5 separate regions of the Homo sapiens genome follow, and all the other regions are linked to region 5. The links are contacts of gene promoters, found by promoter capture Hi-C in blood cells and fetal thymus (Javierre and others, 2016). All regions are on one chromosome and are shown on one strand. The core of a region is centred on a gene start or on the middle of the fragment in contact, and the rest is flanking DNA. Distances in the headings are between cores, read along the strand shown.

Region 1 (2,700 bases), core at 43-2,542, 4.8 Mb before region 5:
TTGACCCTTTCTATAACCATTCTCAATAATCTTTAGGATTTTCATTACATTTCTATTTTTTCCTACTCGGCAAACTTGTAAGACTGTAACTGTTAATCCCATTCTTCCTTCCAGATTGCAAGACAAAAGCAGCATACACACTCTGCCTGATGCGAAGTCAATTTCATTCGAACCCTTTAGGATTTAAAAATAAAAACTGTTTTGCCAGCACAAGATGTCACCGCTCTCTTACCATATCATCCCCTTTCCCTCTTCGTAATATATTCATCAAGTTCACTGAGTATGTATTCATCAACAGTCCCTTTACGTGGGACCGTGAGCCCCTACCTTTTTCAATTTGATGAGTGAGAAGATAAGTAACCTTGAAGCCAGATTTTCAGAGAGAGAGAGAGAGACTGCAGGACCAGCTGCGGAGCTGGGCTGCGCGATGCCCCTGGCTCCTCCCTGGGGCTGGAGGAGCGGGAGACCTTCGGCGAGGCCTGTCACTCACCTGACTGGGTGCCTGAATTGGTAAAGCTTTCCTGAGGCTGCGGTCATTCCAGGGCCATCGGGCATCTGGAGAGGAAAGGAAGTGAATCCAGTTATCACCCACCTCCTTCTAGAAAGTGGAAACGTGCACGACCCAGTGTTCCTCGTGCCCGCTGGGAATGTAACCCCAGGGCTCTCAGCAGCCTCGCTCCCGGCTGGGTGCCTGTGGCCCATCGCTCCAGAGGACACATCCGCCGCGTCGGCACCTTTATGGCCACCGGCAGGCGGGATGTTAAGCGAGAGGCAGGACCCGGTGTCTCGCATGTCTCTCTCAGGCCCTGCGTCCCGAGAGCCCTGGTCGATCTTCTGCACCCGTGGGAGGCGCGGCCTGAGACGCGTGGCTCACTCACCGCCTCCGCGGCGTGGTTCGGCGTCTCCTCTTCTTTCTTGCCTCCGGCGTCCACCCAGGGTCTCCAGAAGCCTGCGTATCTGCGGGATAGGGGAGCACAAGGCGCGCAGAGGAGACGTGAGCCCAGACCCGGGAGAATCCACCGAAGCCGAGCGCTGGCACCGGGCAGTGGGGGATGGAGAGTTGGAGGGGAGGAGCTGGGGAGGCGCAGGAGGGAGAGACGGGGGAAGCTGGGAGGCGCAGAGCAGCGCGGGGAAGCCTACCCGGAGTCCGCGCCCGCGCGCCGCGTAGGGCCGTCGGTGGCCGCGCACGCCGCAGCTCCACTCTCTGTACCCTCTGCGCCTCCCGCGTTCTCCATGACGCCGCAGAGCTGGGCGGAAGGCCGCTGCCAGCTCGCGGGCAATCTTGACCAGTTCCAGTAGGTCCGAGACCCGAGCTTTATATAGCCCTCGCGGCCTGCTGCACATTGAGAGGTTCGCTGCCTCTCCGCCCCTCTCCCTGCTAGCCGCATAAACAAAAAGGCTGCGCGTGAAGGCGCACCGGGCTGAGCCCCGGGTGTGAACGCGTGCAACTCCCAAATGGCCCGGGACAGGGTTTTGTCGAGCGAATGTTAATCGCCCTTCGACACATGGCTGCGGAGAAAAACAACATTCGCCCGAGCAGCCAATTTCCGTGTGAAGAGGCCAGGAGGAGATGGAATTAAGCGAGTCTACACGTTTTGTGGATTTCTGCAAAAAGGCCAAGTGACTGGTTAATTGCTTGATTCGCTGGAGACTCAGGACTTGGCCTGTGGCAAATCAACTGGTTCTGCATCCCGTGTTCTAAAAGCTGGGATGCAGACTAGAATTCAAAGGAATAAACTTAATTCCTCTTCATGGAACAATTTTCTAAAAAATGGGGAGAATGCATGGACTCCTTAAGAGAGGAATGTCGGTTTTTTAAAAAAGTATTGATAAACTAGGTTCATACTCCAGCCTATTATTATTTGAAGATAATAGAAAATTATTGGCAACAAGAGGTAAATTGTAAAAGATTCGCTGTTCTGGCTAAGAGAGCCAGAGACTGGAGTCATGTGATTTGGGCATAGAGCTCTAAATTATCTTCTCGTGTCTTTTGTGATTTTCCCCAACATTTTATCAGTGTCCTCCTACAATAACTTTTGAGTTCGTCTATACACCTCTGTCACTACTTGGTATTTTGTCACTCAATGGTAATTACAAAATTCTTTTTTGAGGGCAGTGTTGTGGAATGATAATGAAATCTTGAAAAGTTATGATATGAGACAAGTTAATCAAACGTCTGCACCCCTGTTTCTCTGATTTGAGTTACCCCTCACTTATCTACCACTAAACTTTGTAAAAAGTGTTATGCATCGAGGAAAAGATGATATATAAATGTTATAATTTTTTTCAAAATGTTTTAAATAATAAAACTGGACTTTCTCTTAAAAGTTTAGACAAAAATCTTGATTGTAAACTATAGTTGTCTCTGCTATTCATTCAGCTACTGCATAGGAAAATAATTTAATTATTAATAGTAGCTAAGAGCCTATAATGATCTACCTGCCAGGAAGGTGAGATTTGGGTTGCTTCTGATAAGAAAATCAGTAAGGATAGATACCTAATGCATGTCTGCATCCCCTACAGTTATTGTTAGGCTAAATAAAATAAAGCTTATAAAATGCGTTTTGCAGTGCCTGGCATATAGTAAGCCTTCAACAGATTTTAAGCTACGTAAAAAAATATAAGGCCTTAACAGATGTTAACCTTTCTGATAAAATGGCTTATTATTTCAGTTCCATAATGTAAACTAGTTAAATCATT
Region 2 (2,700 bases), core at 89-2,588, 4.8 Mb before region 5:
TCAAATCTAAGACCTTTATCTCAGCTATTAGAGAAACAGAACAGAACTAGAAAATAACTAGGGTTGAAGTTTCTGTGATCATCTTCAGGCTATGAACTTAGCGTTAATCCTAAAACACAGTGATCTCAGAAGGGAAACCAAAAGATAATGTGAAAGCAGGTCCTGGGGACTTGGTCTGAGCCCCTGCATCAATCCTCACCTCTAACTTTTTAGTAACTTTTTGCTTCTGCTTAAGCCAAAATAGTTTTCTATCATTTACATCTATGACTCCCCACTAATAGATTTTATCAGCTTCAGTTTTCTTATTTGGTAAATGCGGATTCTCTAAGCTTCAGTACCCTCAATCTGTGAAATGGAGGACCTACCTCATTGGTCTGTTGTGAAAATTAACACTTAGCACATAGCATATAACTGACACATCAATAACCCTGCTAGGGTACTTAAAAAAAGGAAGCACTTTCTAAAAAGAATATTTAACTATATATGAGGTTTTAATTTAAACCTGAGAATTATGTGACTGGGTAATACATCTGAATGTGCAAAAAGATAATGGCAACAGCCAAACCATAAATAGGAGTAAAAATTGCCACTATCAAGTAATTCAGGCAATAACCAGGAATATAATGAGAGTTACTGCAGACTATCTCTAGAAATATAAGGATGCAAATGCTGAAGAAAAAAAATCTTAAACTAGCTATATCACTAATAAAAGTAACAAAATAGAAAACAACAAGTAATGAAACAACAAACAATGTAACAGAAAAGAAGCAACAGAGAAAATACAAACCAAAATTAGTTTATTCAAAATGTTAATAAAATTGATAAACTTCTAGTAAGACTGATCAAGAAAAAAAAGAGAGAAAAAATTAGCAACACCAGGAATGAAAAAGGATATATAGGGTATATCATAGAACTTAAAGACATTAAAGAAATAAAAAGGGAATATTACAAATAACTATATGCCAATATATTAAATGAGATAAAATTAATGAATTCATTGAAAAACACAACTAAAACTGACACAAAAGTAAAGAGAAAATTTAAATAGCCCTATATCCTTTTTTAAAATTAAATTTGTAATAAAAAAGAAAAACTTTCCCACAAAGAAAATTTCAGAATGTTGGCTGCAATTTCTAAACCACTGTGTCAACCAAACAGAACACCTGAGGGTTAGATAAGGCCCTCAGATCAGCAGTTTTTCCTCTCCACTAAATTTTTAATGAATGGGAGAGAAGTACAGAGAGAGAAAAAGTGAAAAAAAGGAGGAGAAGGAAAAGAGTGAATGACAATTTAGGAGATAAAGACAGGGTAAAAGTAAGAGAAAGCAAATAATCTTAGATGTTAGTAAGACAGGAATTAATACAATCGACAAAGACTAGATTATTTGCATAATCATGTGAAATAAGGCAACTTGAAAAATCTATGGGTTAGGTTAGAATTCAATGAACAGGCCAGGTGTGGTGGCTCACACCTGTAATCCCAGCAGTCTGGGAGGCCAAGGCTGTGGATCACCTGCGATCAGGAGTTCCAGACCAGCCTGGCCAACATGGTGAAACCCCCATCTCTACTAAAAATACAAAAAAATTAGCCGGGCATGGCTGCAGGCGCCTATAATCCCAGCTACTCAAGAGGCTGGGGCAGGAGACTCGCTTGAACCCGGGAGACGGAGGTTGCAGTGAGCCGAGATCGTGCCATTGCACTCCAGCCTGGGTGACAAGAGTGAAACTCCATCGCAAAAAAAAAAAAAAAAAAAAAAGCAAACAATGAAAGAAGGGACATGTACCACTAAAATAATGTTGATTTTCTTCCAGGCAGAACATTGTTGATTTGTATTCAAGGGAGAACACTGCCTTCTTTGACCTCAGCTAGGAACCTGCATGTTGGGCAACAAAGATTTTTTCACTGCTCTCTGCGTGTCTTTGAATGTCTAAAAGCACTGTGAGTACTGAGTTTGAGGTTACAAATACAGTGGGTTTTAATCTAACCTAAACAAGAAAATGGAAGAAGAGAGTTGTTCAAAAATCTGCCAAGAAAGTAATGATGATAGTACACAAAGTAAACTACAGAATGGTTGAACTAACTGTAATAATAATATATTATTATTTAGATAGTATATTACTGGGTTAATATGTTCTATTACAAATTAAAACATTAGTTCCAAATTTGAAAAACTGCTCCTAAAAGAGCAGGTAGAAAAATTTCCCTGCTATGGACAAATAACACTGCAGTTTCTGAAAACAGAAATGAACCAAGGAGCTAAGGAAACCTAGGAAAAAAAAAAAAACGGTTAGATAAATCAGCTCTATTTTTGGTGGGTCTGAATTTAACCCAAAAAGTACAAAGCTTTCGTTATCATTACTGAAGTATAAATAAAAGATAATCTAAAGAAATATAGTTGGTTATCCTTGTTCATAGCAATCATTTCCATAAAATTGCTGCAAACACTGAATTAGTAAATACTGACCCATTGCTCCTTGGAAAAAACACAAAGTTGGGTTCCTGTATGCTGCAAACACTGAATTAGCGAATACTGACCCATTGCTACTAGTAAAAAATACAAAGTTGGGTTCCTATGAGCCTATAATGACAACATGTTTGTCAACCAATCAATACATAAACTTGTTTAATGTGTGTTGCTGTTTAAAGACACCTTCTTTAATATATATTGTTGATTCATGAACATTGAACTCACAGACAACA
Region 3 (2,700 bases), core at 108-2,607, 4.0 Mb before region 5:
GAAGTTAAAATCCTGAGAATGGTATTACACGGTGCCACAGGTAGATTGATGCTTAATTTTTTCCTCTTCCCTAAATCTGCCAGATATCTGGTGTGGCAATTTGGAATATGGCGTGAGAACTGAGTTCAAATGCTAGCTTCCTCACGAAATTAGAATAATTTAATCTGAATTTCTTCAATCTTGAAATGGGAATAATAGTACTCTGAATGTATTTCTTTTTCTCTTTCAAAATTTATGAATTTGGACAAATATCTCCAATTCTGGTGCACCTTGTAGAGTAATTAGGAACCCAAACCCTACCAAAATAAAACAAAAACCACACACACACAACAAACCCTCCCTTCCTCTCATGCAGGGGCCTTTCACAGTTCCCTTGGACTACTCTCCTTTGTTTAGGCAAGGTACCCGGGTGGCTCATGCCTGTAATCCCAGCACATTGGGAGGCTGAGGCGGGCGGATCACGAGGTCAAGAGATCAAGACCATCCTGGCCAACATGGTGAAACCCTGTCTCTACTAAAAATACAAAAATTAGCTGGGTGTGGTGGCGCGCACCTTTAGTCAGTCCCAGCTACTCAGGAGGCTGAGGCAGGAGAATGGAGTGAACCCGGGAGGCGGAGGTTGCAGTGAGCTGAGATCGCGCCACTGCAGTTCAGCCTGGCAACAGAAAGAGACTCCGTCTCAAAAAATAAAAAATAAAAAGAAAAAAAAAGAAACCTAACTTTGCTGGACTTAGTTTTGCCATTTCTTGAACTACTTATAAATGGATTCATACAATATATACTTTTTTGTTTCTGGCTGCATTCCTTCCATAATATTTTTCAGATTCACGTTCCATCTATGTGGCTGCATATATCAGTAGTCCATTCCTTTTTCTTGCTAAGTTTTCCATTGTATGAATATACCACAATTCATTTATCTGTTCTCCTATTGCTGGATGTTTTTCTTGTTTCTGGAGTTTGCTTATTATGAATACAGCTGTCATAACACTGTTGTATAAATCTTTTTTTGGACATACATTTTCATTTCTTTTTAGGTAAGTACCTAAGAGTGAAATTTCTGGGTCATAGGATAGATGTGCATGTTACTTTGTGAGAAATTGCCAAACAGTTCTCCAAAGTGATTGTACCAGTTTGCACGTTCAACCAGAAAAAAAATGAGTTTCAACTACTTTACATTTTGACTTACATTTAGTATTATCAGTCCTTTTAGTTTGAACCATTCTAGTGTGTGTAAAATAGTATCTTGTGGTTTTAATTTTCATTTTACCGATGACTAATAATGTTGAGTGCCTTTTCACTTGCTTTTTAGCAATTCATATATGTTCTTTTTAAAAGTATCTTCTAATTTTTTTTGCCCATAATCAGATTATTTGTCTTGTTTAATTGAGAGTTCTTTATACTGTCTCAAAACAAGAGCTTTCTCACATAAATGCCTTGTGAATATATGACTATTCTTATCTGTGACTTAACTTTTCATTTTCTTTTCTTTTTTTTTTTTTTTTTTTTTTTTTAGACAGCGTCTTGCTCTACTGCCCAGGCTACAGTGCAGTGGTGTGATCATGGCTCACTGCAGCCTCAACCTCCTGGGCTCAAGCAATCCTCCCACCTCAGCCTCTGGAGTAGCTGGGATACAAGTTGCATGCCACCATGCCCAGCTAATTTTTGTATTTTTTTGTAGAGATAGGGTTTCACCATATTGCCCATGCTGGTCTTGAACTCCTGGACTCAAGCGATCCACCCACTTTGGACTCCCAAAGTGCTGGGATTACAGGTATGAGCCACCATGCCCTGCCTCGTTTTTTTGATAGTGTCCTTTGATGAACAGAAATTTTAATTTTAATGAAGTCCACTCTATCGTTTTTTTATTCCTTAAGGGTTAGTTTTTTTGGTGTCTTAAATCTTTGCCTACCTTAAGGCTGTGAAGATGTTTTGGCAGGTTTATTTTCTAGGAGTTATATCGTTTTAGCTTTCACATTTTGATCTGTGATCATGTTGAATTCATTTTTGTGTTTGCAGTGAAGTAGGGATCAAAGTTCTTTTTTTGGTATAAGGATATTCATTTATTCTATCACCATCAGTTGAAAAGGCCATCATTTCTCCCATTAAAATAACTCAGTCTTCATGAGAAATCAGTTGACTATACTGTTTGCATAGTGTGTCCTTTCTACCTTTTTAACCTTTCTTATGTCTTTCTGTATAAAGCAAAAAGCTGTAAAAATACTGTATTTCCCTAAAAATAGCATAAAACTGTATGCTAGTTTTAAAAATATATAGTTGGGTGATTTTAAATCTGTTCTGATGATCTGTGTGTTCTAATTAAAATGTTTAGTATATTTTATAGTTAATTTAAATATTGGTGTTCTTGTTCCTAACTGCTATGGTTTGGATGTGTTTTGTCCCTATGTTTTCTCACTTTGATCCCCAATGTGGCAGTGTTGAGACATAGGGCCTAGTGGGAGGTGCGTGGTTCCTGAGGGCAGATTCTTCTTGAATAGATTAATGCCCTCCCATGGAGATGGTTGGGTGAGTTCTCTCTCAGGAATGGATTAATTCCTGCCATAGTGGGTTGTGAAAAAGAGTCTGGCTTCCAAAGTTTACATTCACAGATGTAAAGATCTATTTATATTAAGATATCTTAGCATTTTGGGATAAACTTTGGCCATTCATTTATTCAATCCACAGATGTTTATTGTGTTCTTA
Region 4 (2,700 bases), core at 12-2,511, 4.1 Mb before region 5:
TTAGGAAACATAGAAAACAGCATTTCCATCTCCAGTAGCTGAAGCTGAAGGCTTTCTTTCACCGAAGCAGACATGTTGCCTCGCAATCAGCCTGCCTGGAAACCTCACAAGGCTCAGGGACGCTGGGTTTGTCAATGCCAGCCGGTATCCAGCGAAATTTCCCGAAGGTCCCTTTACGTGGAAGCAATTCTGCAGGAACGCTTTGCACCGAGAGCTAGGGGCACAAACCAGACACTTGCACTCTTCTTTATTTCCTGACTCCAAAATCTAGTATGCACAACATCCTCTAAAACACTCCGTAAAAACCCATATTCTGCGTACCCGGGCTCCGGGTTCCCGCCTCCCGCACCCCGCACTAGATAGGGGAATCTGCACTTTCAACAGGTGTTTGGAACTGTCCCGCTGCAGGTGGCAGGCAGACACCTGCAGACGCTCTGCAAGCCTGAATTCTGGGAAAGGCTGGGGCCCGGCTTCCAATCCCACCCGGGGCTCGGGCTTGGGCGGAGCCAGACGCTGCGGCGAGAGAGGCCGCAGTGCCAGCAGGATGGGCTCCGAGTTCCCCAGCGCCAGTCGCCACCCCTCGGTCCTGGACTCGCGGACCGCCCCCCCCCAACACCGCGGTGGCCTTTTCGCTTGGGCCGCATTCCAGGGCTCCGGACGTTTACGATTCACTGGCCTCTGCCCCGAGGGACCCAGGATAAGGGTAGGGGGTGTCTCAGAGGTCATTAAATAAAAGATGTTTACAGTGAGCTGGGGGAAGGGGGTACCCGGGGAGACGGCAGCCGGAGAAGGCTTCCCAGATTCAAAGGTTTGGGAGATGACCTCGACGTCGGAGAGGGGGATGCGGGCCGCCGGCGGCGCTCACTGTGGGCGAGGTCGCCCTGTCCGAGGCCCAGCGACGGGGCTGATTCCCCACCCCCGCCCCTAGCCAAGACCACTAGGAACCCCGGCTTCCCAGGAACGCAGGGCCTGCCGCCCCCAGAGGCCCGGATTTGGAGGCGGAGGCTGTGCCTCCGCGGCCGCAGTGCTCTGAGGGCCCGCGACCCTCGGCCCCAACCCCCGGGCCACCGCGGGGGCCTCACCCTTTCTGGTCACTCAATGGTAACAGCCCCAGACCCCGCTCGGAACCGCAGCCGCAGTTCCTCAGGCGCCAGCTGCGCGCGACCTGCGGCGAGGCGGGGGCGGGGCTGGCGGATAGTCCTCTGCCGTGATTGGCCAGGGGGCGTGGCGACGAGCCGGAAGCCACGCAGGGCCACGTCTGCGGTTCTGAGGACTGGGTTTGGGTGCAGACGTTGTTGCTTGGGCGCTTCTCCGCTGCGTGTAGGTGAAGGGGGCTTCCTGACCGAGGTAAGCCGGGCCCCGAGGCTCGGAGTTGAGAAGGGAGACTACCGGTCGGCAAGGGCTCGGTGGGAGCGGGACAGGTCAGATTCTCGGCCCGACGGAGGGGCTAGTGGTCTGGCGGGCGACTGACCGAGCGGCGGAGCGCGCGGGACACACCTACAGGCCCCTGCGCCCCGCGGGCGGGCTGGTCGGGACGGGCCGCGGGTCTCCTGCCGGGGCTCTGGTACGTGGACCTAGGCGGGGACCTCAGGGTGGAGTGCCGGGAATCACCCTTGTGCGGTGATTCGAGGGTAGGCGGGAGAGAGGCACCAAGGAGATTTGAAGATTGAATGGAGAGTAGGGGGATACTCTTAACTTTTTGCGTGGACGCTGGATTTGGCAAATATGCTTTCAATAAAGGCATTCGCAGAGGCATTGAAAGTAGTTGTAGGGCCTAAAACGCATGAAAGGATGAACTCATATTATCTGGACCTTTTTTTTTTTAATGGCTTTTTGGAGTTAACAGGACTGGTTTACACTCTTATGAATAATCATGACACATAACTGACTGCTCAGTTTTTACAAATATGTATTCATCCTTAGGAAAGAGATCTGATCACTGTCTTGAACTAAATTAGTTTACTGAATGCCAGCTTTTTCCAACTGGACAAAAGCAAGTATTTTTCACCATTTCTTGCAAGTTCTGTTCATTGAAGCAATGAAGGACAATAAAGAAAACAAAATTATGAGGCTAGCAGCTGGCGGACTGCTCCTCATCTCTGGGCTAATTGGGAATTAATTGACCCAGGAAATGTAGTATATGGACTACTGAAGGAAAACTACTGACTGAGGTTGGAAACCCCAAGTTCCACTTAATGGGAGTATCCCAGAGAAAACAGTATTAGTGGGCTAAGGGCCGATTTTTTGTTGTTGTTTGTTTTGAGACGGAGTCTCACCCTGTCGCCCAGCCTGGAGTGCAGTGGCGCGATCTCGGCTCACTGCGACCTCCACCCGCGGGTTCAAGCGATTCTCCTGCGTCAGCCTCCTGAGTAGCTGGGACTACAGGCGCGCACCACCACGCCAGGCTACTTTTTGTATTTTTAGTAGAGACAAGGGTCTCACCATGTTGGTCAGGCTGGTCTTGAATTCCTGACCTCGTGATCCGCCCGCCTTGGCCTCCCAAAATGCCGGGATTACAGGCCTGAGCCACCTCACCTGGCCTGTTTTTTTTTTTTTTTTTTTTTTTTGAGACCGAGTCTCCCTTTGTCACCCAGGCTGGAGTGCAGTGGCGCGATCTCGGCTCACTGCAACCTCTGCCTCCCGAGTAGCTGGGATTACAGGCGCCAGCTAACACGCCCGACTAATTTTTTTGTATTTTTA
Region 5 (2,700 bases), core at 95-2,594:
TAATTTCACCCATATTCGTTTTTTTAAAAACAAGGCCCTTATCCTCATCAGCAAAACACAGATGTATGATTTAGCATATAAAATCGGTAATTACATACTAATTTACGAAAGATTTTTTTTTCTCCTTTTCGTCAGTTTTCAAGAAGTCTTCCCGTGATTAACTGTAAACAGGAATGGTTTACATCTCAAATTAGAAGCCATTAATTAGCATGACGAAGTCAACTGCAAGATACACAGATTATTTAAATTATTTAATCACTATTCACCTTGGCTAAACTGTAGTATACTCTTTCAATATCCTTAGGCAGGTTATCGATCTGTCACTAAATTACCTCCAGATCAGTTAGACATGAATATTAGCGTCCTTTCCTTTCCCTCAGGTTTACATTCTCCCTTCTCGTAAACACTTAAAAAAGCTTTAAGGTTCTTTAATTCCAAATACCTAATTAGCCATCACTAGCCTTTTTGTAATAAGGAAAAAGAGTATCTGAAGTACAAATCAAGAGTTCGCTTTGCCCGTTTAACAATAAAAAACATTTAAAAAACGTACGCCAAAGGCAATGGCAGTAATAAAAGAAATATGCAGAGGTGGCTTCAGCAAATAACGGGTTTGCAAAACGCAAGTGCTTAACAAAAAGCAGCCCAAACCTCTATTGCAATATACAGCACTCCAATAAATTACACAACACTTGCATAGGCTGCAGAAATAACGCAGGACAAGACTTACACAGATGCCAATCCGCAGCATTTATACACATGCACATGGCAAGAGACAGAAACCAAACACTATCATTCAACTCGGGAAGGGTAGCGCGATCCCGAGCTTGCCCAGCGTGAGAGTGCTCTCTGCGTGTGTGTCTGTGTACGCGCGTGAGTGAGACCCATCCTTGGGGCATTTCCCCTCTCTGGGCAGTTTTGCTTCATTTGTTTCATATTTCTGCTACATAGAAACTAACTTCCATCTCAGCTCCAGCCAGCGCCGCTGAATAGAGCCTGTGCTGCGGCTCCGTGTGCGTCAGATCCCTCCGCGGAACCGTCCCCGGCCCCCTCCCTGCCACTATCGGCCTCCACAGAGAAAGCGCCTTCCAGCCAACCGGCGGCTTGGGCTCCGACATCTTCTCCGACTGGAAATAAATAAATAAATCGCACGCCCTGCGGGGAGGAGCGGGTGGGGGTCTCACTGTGCCGCGTGCGGAGCGCTGGGGACGAGGGGTCGGAGGCACTCCTTTTTTAGCGCCGGGGGGCGGGGGCGCGGGCCAGAGCCGGGGCCGAGCCCTGGGCCGCGAAGGCGGCGGACTCCTTTCTGCGGCGGAGGGATCCGCGGCGGAGGCGGCCACGGCCGTAGTCGCTGCCTGAGAGTTGTTGTTTCCTCCTCCTCCTCCTCCGCCTCCGCCGCCGTTGCTTGAATGGTGGAGCCGAAGCTCGGCTCGTGAACACACACTGACAGCTATAGGGCAGGCGGCGGCACCGTCCCCGCTTCCCCTCGGCGGCGGGGTGTCCCGTCGGCGGCCCTGAAGTGACCCATAAACATGTCTTGTGAGAGGAAAGGCCTCTCGGAGCTGCGATCGGGTAAGTCGGGGGGCTGCCGGGGCCGCTGGCACCGGGCGATTCCGCCCGCGGTCCCCCGCCCCCCGCCGCCCGACCGCTCAGCCTGTGTGTCTCCCCGTCCCTCTCTCCCGCGCAGAGCTCTACTTCCTCATCGCCCGGTTCCTGGAAGATGGACCCTGTCAGCAGGCGGCTCAGGTACGGCGGCGCGCGGCGCGGGCCGGGCCGGCGCTCGCCGCTCGCGGGCGTGGGGGAGGGAGGCGGCGGCGGCGGGGCCGCGGCCCGGGGCGCGGGGCTCAGCTCTCCCCGCTTTGTTGTTGCAGGTGCTGATCCGCGAGGTGGCCGAGAAGGAGGTAAGGGCGGCGGCGGCCCGGCGCGTCCCGCCGCCGCGCGGCCGCCTCTGGGCCGCTGCGCCGCCGCTGCCGCCGCCGGCAGGGCGCGGGGCGCGGGGCTCGGGGTCCCCGCCGGGGCGCGGGGCGGGCGGGGGAGGGGAGCGGGCGGGTAGGGGCCGGGGGCCGGGCTCACGGGGTGTCCTCTCCCCGCAGCTGCTGCCCCGGCGCACCGACTGGACCGGGAAGGAGCATCCCAGGACCTACCAGAATCTGGTGAGACATTCACGTCGCAGAGCAAAGAAACTTTTCCCTGAGTCGAATAAAAATTGAATTTCCCGCAATTTTTTACAGAGACAAAAACTTGGCCCTAGAACGTGAAAGCTCCAAAGGCCATGGGGAGGGTTGGGAGGCCGGCGCGGGGTCTGCGGGGGCCAGTGGCCGGGGGTACTCGTACTTCGGGGCCGCAGGGGCTGCGGACAATTTATTTGTGATATTTTGTTAATGTGCTAGAAATAAAGATACGTCATGAGTGTTGTGCAGTGCAAGGCCGGAGGAGGAGGGGCCGGCGCGCGCGTCCGTGCGGGCGCGGGGGCGCGCGAGAGTCGGCGGCGGCGGGAGCGGCGCGAAGAGGGAGAGCGCGCTCGCTCGTTCGCTTGCTCGCTCTGCACGCGCGGCCGGCTCGGCTTTCTCCTGCCCTACACAATAGCTGGTGACTAACTGCTCCGAAGTGGCATTAGCATTTCACAAGCAGGCTATCCAGCCGCTGCGGTACCGTGGCAAGACATTATTTTTTCCCCCTCTGTCGTTTATTTTGTTTTCCTTA

Evidence for each region. The method cuts DNA at HindIII sites, captures the fragments that hold promoters and counts their contacts. A CHiCAGO score of 5 or more calls a contact.
Region 1: a contact is called between the fragment with the promoter of RIPPLY2 here and the fragment with the promoter of PHIP in region 5, in 1 of 17 cell types (total CD8 T cells). The highest score is 5.4, in total CD8 T cells.
Region 2: a fragment that was not itself captured here is called in contact with the fragment with the promoter of PHIP in region 5 in 1 of 17 cell types (neutrophils); the score reaches 6.0 in neutrophils.
Region 3: a contact is called between a fragment that was not itself captured here and the fragment with the promoter of PHIP in region 5, in 1 of 17 cell types (total B cells). The highest score is 5.3, in total B cells.
Region 4: a contact is called between the fragment with the promoter of PGM3 here and the fragment with the promoter of PHIP in region 5, in 1 of 17 cell types (non-activated CD4 T cells). The highest score is 5.5, in non-activated CD4 T cells.

What each region holds. Positions count from the first base shown.
Region 1 is chr6:83,851,952-83,854,651 of GRCh38, reverse strand. It overlaps RIPPLY2 (ripply transcriptional repressor 2), which reads right to left and starts at 1,292. Exons shown (of 4, transcript NM_001009994.3): 1 at 1,141-1,292; 2 at 879-957; 3 at 491-555. The coding sequence starts at 1,235. It overlaps RIPPLY2-CYB5R4 (RIPPLY2-CYB5R4 readthrough), which reads right to left and starts at 1,292. Exons shown (of 18, transcript NR_174604.1): 1 at 1,141-1,292; 2 at 879-957; 3 at 491-555. The HindIII fragment of the contact is 2,033 bases long and covers 519-2,551 here.
Region 2 is chr6:83,870,028-83,872,727 of GRCh38, reverse strand. All of the region lies in intron 4 of RIPPLY2-CYB5R4 (RIPPLY2-CYB5R4 readthrough), which reads right to left. All of the region lies in intron 2 of CYB5R4 (cytochrome b5 reductase 4), which reads right to left. Among named protein-coding and RNA genes, the nearest start is that of CYB5R4, 12 kb to the right of the region's middle. RefSeq lists a silencer at 1,744-2,038. The HindIII fragment of the contact is 2,014 bases long and covers 332-2,345 here.
Region 3 is chr6:83,062,224-83,064,923 of GRCh38, reverse strand. All of the region lies in intron 1 of UBE3D (ubiquitin protein ligase E3D), which reads left to right. Among named protein-coding and RNA genes, the nearest start is that of UBE3D, 2.3 kb to the left of the region's middle. The HindIII fragment of the contact is 3,859 bases long and covers 1-2,700 here.
Region 4 is chr6:83,191,826-83,194,525 of GRCh38, reverse strand. PGM3 (phosphoglucomutase 3) reads left to right here and starts at 1,261. Exons shown (of 13, transcript NM_015599.3): 1 at 1,261-1,347. It overlaps RWDD2A (RWD domain containing 2A), which reads right to left and starts at 1,169. Exons shown (of 3, transcript NM_033411.5): 1 at 1,083-1,169; 2 at 1-214. The coding sequence starts at 74. RefSeq lists silencers at 871-1,240, 1,541-1,610 and an enhancer at 799-1,298. The HindIII fragment of the contact is 15,181 bases long and covers 1-2,700 here.
Region 5 is chr6:79,076,898-79,079,597 of GRCh38, reverse strand. It overlaps PHIP (PHIP subunit of CUL4-Ring ligase complex), which reads left to right and starts at 1,344. Exons shown (of 40, transcript NM_017934.7): 1 at 1,344-1,569; 2 at 1,685-1,743; 3 at 1,869-1,898; 4 at 2,091-2,150. The coding sequence starts at 1,530. LOC124901346 (a long non-coding RNA gene) reads right to left here. Exons shown (of 2, transcript XR_007059652.1): 2 at 2,332-2,700. RefSeq lists an enhancer at 917-966 and silencers at 1,087-1,326, 1,457-1,626, 2,126-2,625. The HindIII fragment of the contact is 4,735 bases long and covers 419-2,700 here.